2 separate regions of the Homo sapiens genome follow, and region 2 is linked to region 1. The links are contacts of gene promoters, found by promoter capture Hi-C in human tissues and cell types (Jung and others, 2019). All regions are on one chromosome and are shown on one strand. The core of a region is centred on a gene start or on the middle of the fragment in contact, and the rest is flanking DNA. Distances in the headings are between cores, read along the strand shown. Region 1 holds the start of MAPT (microtubule associated protein tau). Region 2 overlaps LOC124904014 (a long non-coding RNA gene).

Region 1 (3,149 bases), core at 235-2,734:
CCCTCAGAATAAAAGCCAGAAACCAGGGCTGGGAGCGCAGATCACGTAACCTCTACAGACAAAGCAAAGAGCCCCCGAAGAAGGTGCTGGGCGAACGCCCCCAGTGCTCACGCCCGCAGCAGCAAAACGCCAAGATTTCAGCGCTGATTGTCCCCCTCCCTTTAATGCCAGGCCCCGCCCTGTCCTATGAAGCCCGGCCACCCGGTTTGGCATGGCACCGTAAAGACGTGACACGCCGAAAAAAGATGGCACCTCGCGTTCCGAGGGGGAAAAAAAGGGGGGCTGGGGGCGGGAGTGGGAGGAGGCACAGCCTATCCTCCCCCTTCCTCGCCCACCAGGGTCCACACCCACTGCCGCAGTGAGGGGCGAGCCCTGCGCGCCAGCCCCGCGCCTCCGGCAGGGAGCGCACACGCCGGGCGCCCTGCGCTCCGAGCGCTGAGAAAGAAATCCGCCCCGAGATGCACCTGCAGCCCCGCGCCCATCCGTGCGTGGCTGCGGCTGTGCGTGCCCGCGAACGGGGACCAGCGGCCGCCGAGTCCGTCCACATCGCCAGGCCAGGTGAACCCTGCCTTTGCGAGCGTGCACAGTGGGATCCGCGCACTGTTCTCAGGCACGGCGCTGCTCGCGTCTCTGTGCCAGGCGTGCGCAGGGGGAAGGGCAACTAAAGTGACAGCGCGTGGACCCCTCCCCATCTCCTCGATTTCTCCCAGCCCCCAAATGTCCCCTACGGGTTTCTGAAGGAGGAAAAGGGGAGGGGGCCGGCCCCCGCCTAAAATCAGGGGCAGTGAAGGCCCTGTCGGAATCACTGCTCGGGAGGTGCAGGGAGGGGCGTGCAGGGAGTCATCTTTTCTAGAACCCGATCCACGTCTTTCTTAGAGCTGATGGCGAACAGCGGCAGGGACAGCGGATTTCAGATTCGGTTTCGGGGGTCGTTATCGGACCCCTCCACACACACACACACACACACACACACACACACACACACACACGCCCATTGCGGCAAAAGGCTGCAGTCGAGAGTGAAGGGCAGCCCCCTCCCCCAAGTCACCGCCGCCGCGCCCCACCCTGCCGGCACAGCCTCCACCTGGGGTCTGCGCGAATCTGGTGGTGAAGACCCTCCAGCACACACACACGCGCGCACTCACGCGTGCGTGCATCCCTTGCTCAGGTCCCTTTCCAGGCCGCCCTGGCCCCAGCCCCCGAGCAGGGGAGGCAGGGAGGGGCCCTGCGGTGGCCCCGACCGATGCCCGGCGCACGAAGCCCCAGTCTGCGGAGAGGGAGGGCGAGGGGCGGCGGCGCAGGGGTGCACAGAGGCGGACGGCGAGGCAGATTTCGGAGCCGCGGCGCTTACCTGATAGTCGACAGAGGCGAGGACGGGAGAGGACAGCGGAGGAGGAGAAGGTGGCTGTGGTGGCGGCGGCAGAAGGTGGGCGGTGGCAGCGGCGCTGCTGTTGGTGCCGGAGCTGGTGGGTGGCGGTGACTGCGAGGGCGCGCGCCGGCGAAGAGGGCGCGTTCCTGAGGCCGGCGGGCGGCGCAGGCGCGAGCAGCGGGAACGCGAGCCTCCCCAGGGGAGGGGGCGGGCAGCGCGGCCTCCGCGGGAGCCTTCTCCTCCGGCCACTAGTGGGCGCGCGCGAGCGCCCTGCCGCTCGGCCGTCCGGCGTCTCCCGGCTCGTTCCTCTCGGCGCTGCCCTTTCGCGGTCCCCCTCCCGCTACGCCTCAGGCCGCGGCGCTGACCGCAGCGCGCACGCGCGTTCCGTGGCGCACGCGCTTTCTCCACCTCCTGTAGTTGGAGTCTTTGTGTCGTTGCGGGGGTGGGTGTCCTCCTTCGGGCCATGCGGGGTCGGGGCAAGGCCAGTGGCTCCGCCGCTGGGTCCGCTGCCCTTTACTTTCAGTCAGCCTGGGGCGGTGTCCTCTCCTACAGAAGTCCTGAGCGGCCTTCCACGTGGCCGGCCCTCGAGTCCGTCCGCCCCGACCCTTCGTAGTCCCGAAACCGCCCCCCTGGCTAAGGTCTCTTTCCCCCAGGCTGCTTCCTTTCTCCTTGCTTTTTTCCCACCTTTTTTGTTACTGACCAAGGTGAATCCTTTCCTTAACAAATCGGCTTAAAGCAAGCTAACTCAGTTACAATACAGTAGAACTGTACTTAAAAAAAAAGAAACGTGAATCTAACCGTTACGTCAGAAAAAAAAATCTTAAATTAGACGAATTTCAAACAGTGCTTAACACATCGCAGAGCATTTGCAGTTATTTGTATCACGTCTTTTGAAACACCTTTATGCTGTAAATAGAGCTTGAAGTCTGAATGTTTAAGGGCCAGCTAGAGATTGTCCCCTGGAAGACGCACCTCAGCCTGAAACTGACCAGTGGTCCTCATTCTGCTGGTCGCCCAGGCCCCAGGCTTCGGCCTTAGCTTGGATTTTTCATTTCCCCAACATCAAGTTTAAGCCCAAGCAGTGGGATGATTTCTATGTAGGGGGGTTTAGGGCAGCCATCTCCTCCTAGGGAGATGGGAAGTTGTCTTGAAGCTCCAATTTGCATAGCTCTTATATTCTTTTTAAAAAATCAACATATGTTATAGATTAATAGAAAAAGCAAGTAAAATGCTTTATTCACACAGTTTCTGGAACTGACCTTTTTCTCCTTTTTTTTTTTAAATGCATATTAACTTTATTTTTAAACAGAGGGGCATATACCCAAAGAAGTAGGAGTGAGAACCACCATGGGGGCTTGCTCAAAGCAATCTGCCCTAGCCTTCTGACTACAGAATGTCTCATGAGCCAATGGCCTGGAGATGGAGCTGCCCCTTGATGGTGTACACCTTAGAAAAGTCAGTGGAATTGACCTTTTTTTGGAGACAAGGTCTTGCTCAGGCTGGAGTGCAGTGGCACAATCGTAGCTCACGGCAAGCTTGAACTCCTGGGGCTCAAGCAATCTTCCCACCTCAGCCTTCTGAGTTGCTGGGACTACAGGTGGGCACCACCACACCTGGCTAACTTTTTTTTTTTTTTTTTTTTAGAGAGGAGGTCTTGCAGTGTTGCCCAGGCTGCTTTCTAACTCCCACCTCAGCCTCCCAAAGCGTTGGGATTACAGGCATGAGCCACTGCACTCAGCCTGGAATTGACTTTTTGTTGTTGTTGTTCTAACTGCCACCA
Region 2 (3,149 bases), core at 460-2,959, 380 kb before region 1:
GAGGTCCTGGGGCCTGTGGCAAGACAAAGGGAATTTGGTAAAGGAGCAAAGGAGACCTAGGCTGGGCCCGCATAGTGTAGGGGCCACTTAGGATGTCTTCTTGCCACCTGGTTATTTTATGTAGCTTTTTAATATACTGAAGTTGACATAATTTTCAATAAAGCACATGGGAGCTGAATGGAGACGTTTGCTCAATTCTGCTTAAATAAACAAATTAGGCTGTGTGCAGTGGCTCACACCTGTGATCTCAACACTTTGAGAAGCCAAGGCAGGCAGCTCACTTGAGCCCAGGAGTTTGAGACCAGCCTGGGCAACATGGGGAAACCCCATCTCTACAAAAAATACAAAAAATTAGCTGAGCATGGTGGCACGTGCCTGTAGTCCCAGCTACCCAGGAGGCTGAGGTAGGAGGATCACCTGAGCCCTGGAGGTTGAGGCTGCAGTGAGCCATGATTGTGCCACTGCACTCCAGACTGGGCTACAGAGTGAGACCCTGTCTCAAAACAAACAAATCAAAAAAAAAAAAAAAAAGAAAAAAAGAAAAAAATTACAATGCAAAGAATTGTATAAAGACAACTTGCTGTTGCATTTTTAGGGAATTTCTATTGCTTTCCAGATTTAAGGTAGAATGAAACATAACTAGCCAGTTATTGAAACTTGATTTTATTATGGGTTTCCAGAATTTCCTTTGCCATATTTTCCCATTGTAATTTATGATCTCCAGCATTGTTTGCACATTGTTTTCATTACTGCACTTTGTTATAATTCATCATTTATACCATCCATATTCTTTCTTTTCTTACGGATTGTGATATCTTTAGTCTAAATTTTTAACTGGAATCAGAACTGGATGTTGGGGTCACTGTTTTATTGTACCTTGTGATTACGTAATCCAAAATTGCCCCCCAAAAAGTCAGGTTAGCTAATATAATTTTTTAATGTTAACGATGTATAGTGGTAAAAAATTTATTCTAGCAGCCACGTGAAACAATGTATTTAAAAATTGTAAACTATTGGAATACTGTATTTATCTGCTATTGCAATATAAATTTATCTGCTATTGCAATATAAAGTCCTTTGACTTAGTCCTGGTAACTGTACAGTAATTTGGTTTACTGACAAAAGTTGTGAGGCCAGCCTTGGTGGCTCACACTTGTAATCCCAGCACTTTGGGAGGCCGAGGCGGGCGGATCACCTGAGGTCAGGAGTTTGCGACCAGCCTGGCCAACATGGTGAAACCTCGTCTCTACAAAAAGTACAAAAATTAGCCGGGTGTGGTGGCAGGCACCTGTAATCCCAGCTACTCGGGAGGCTGAGGCAGGAGAATCGCTTGAATCTGGGAGGCAGAGGTTGCAGTGAGCCAAGATCGCGCCTTTGCACTACAGCCTGGGGACAAAAGCGAGACTTCGTCTCAAAAAAAAAAAAAATTGTGAATAAAACTGTGTGAAACTGGGAGACTTTCTGGACTTTAATAGAAAAATATGATTTTAAAATTGCTTTTTCTTTTGTTTTAGCATAATTTTTCCCTTTATATTCCCCTCATCCGTGTAAATAAACACACACATACACACACACACGCACCTTTCACCACAATGGTAATGCTTCTGTAAATGTCTCTATTTGTCCAGTTGCCTGAAAATGTTGTAATCTTTATTAGACAAATATATATACATACATATTTTAAATATTGGCTTTTTCCAGTGAGCTATTATGCTTAGTGTACAGTGAAAAGTTTTATTATTATAGGTTAAAAATTTCTTAATCGTTCTTTTCTATTCGCTTGCCAAGGGTGAATGAAAGAACATGGCTGCTTCTTCCAGATTTATTTACTTTGGCATCCGCATAAAGCATCATTTTCAAAAATGAAAGGTGCTCAATTGTTCCCTTTTTCTATACTCTGTAGGTCTCACAACAACAAACTGCAGTCTACAGCTTCCTAAAGTTCAGCATGTTAACCTAACATAAAACACAGCAAGAATCTTGTTGCCTGAACTATTTTAAATTAAGGAGCCAGATCTTTTTAGTGAGGCTATCCTGACAAGACTTGACCTAAACTTTGTTTTTATTGGTCATAACAGTCCAATTATATTATTGGCCAATTTTGTCCAATGGACAAGAAAAAAGCAAAGTTGCCAGGTGCGGTGGCTCACGCCTGTAATCCCAGCACTTTGGGAGGCCAAGGCGGGCGGATCATCTGAGGTCGGGAGTTCGAGACCAGCCTGACCAATATGGAGAAACCCCGTCTCTACCAAAAATACAAAATTAGCTGTGCATGGTGGCCTATGCCTGTAATCCCAGCTACTTGGGAGGCTGAGGCAGGAGAATCGCTGGAACCCGGGAGGCAGAGGTTGTATTGAGCCGAGATTGAGCCATTGCACTCCAGCCTGGGTGACAAGAACAAAACTCCGTTTCAAAAACAAAAAAAGGAAGAAAAGAAAAAGAAAAAAGAAAAGTCAACGACACCATTATCTTGTCAAGATCAAATGGTTTTATTATTGTGGCAGAAGCGAGAAAATTTTGTTTATTAAAAAAAAAAAAGAAAAAGAAAGCAAGAAACAATGATACTGTGGGGTCAAGTATAACTCCATGGAAATGCCACGTCTGCTCTTCAGTGAAGAAGCTGGTTTAGAGTCTCAAAGAAAACTTTTGACTGTATTTATTTATTGTTGCAAAAAAGATGCTTTTTTATTGCTGCCCTCATTTGTCAACTAATTATTTTTTCTTATAAAATCCAGCCACGGTTACATATAATCCATCCATATCTTATCAATGATTCCTGTACGTAAAAGTACAAGACAACCTCTAGATGTCTTTTCTTTCTATGAAAGGAGCTGCTATGTACACATGTGCACACACACACAACTGCGAATCAACAATGAGTTTATTGTTCATGGTAGATTAAAATCAAGCTTGCATAAAGGTTGGGCTAAGTGGTCCTGGACTACAGACTCTGGTGACTTGAATATAACAGTACAATTTGTCAATTACTCCACACCAGGTTGAAATGAGTAAAATCTATTTGAAGGTATCTTCTTTGTAAACATTTGTCAGATTCTAATTTTTCTTTTTGTATTAAAATTCAACTATGGATGTATGTGAAACAAAATAAATGGAGATAGTTTTTCTCCCACAGACAGAGGTGTCTTTGA

Evidence for each region. Contacts are between HindIII fragments. The study calls those that stand out against the background at their distance.
Region 2: a fragment that was not itself captured here is called in contact with the fragment with the promoter of MAPT in region 1 in 1 of the 25 tissues and cell types used here (mesendoderm cells).

The regions. Positions count from the first base shown.
Region 1 is chr17:45,892,889-45,896,037 of GRCh38, reverse strand. It overlaps MAPT (microtubule associated protein tau), which reads right to left and starts at 1,484. Exons shown (of 13, transcript NM_001377265.1): 1 at 1,352-1,484. It overlaps MAPT-AS1 (MAPT antisense RNA 1), which reads left to right and starts at 525. Exons shown (of 2, transcript NR_024559.1): 1 at 525-558. It overlaps MAPT-IT1 (MAPT intronic transcript 1), which reads right to left and starts at 255. Exons shown (of 1, transcript NR_024560.1): 1 at 1-255. RefSeq lists enhancers at 1-655, 656-1,541. The HindIII fragment of the contact is 9,010 bases long and covers 1-3,149 here.
Region 2 is chr17:46,274,173-46,277,321 of GRCh38, reverse strand. It overlaps LOC124904014 (a long non-coding RNA gene), which reads right to left. Exons shown (of 3, transcript XR_007065823.1): 2 at 1-13. It also overlaps a transcript of LRRC37A not described here and a transcript of ARL17B not described here. Among named protein-coding and RNA genes, the nearest start is that of LRRC37A, 19 kb to the left of the region's middle. The HindIII fragment of the contact is 6,775 bases long and covers 1-3,149 here.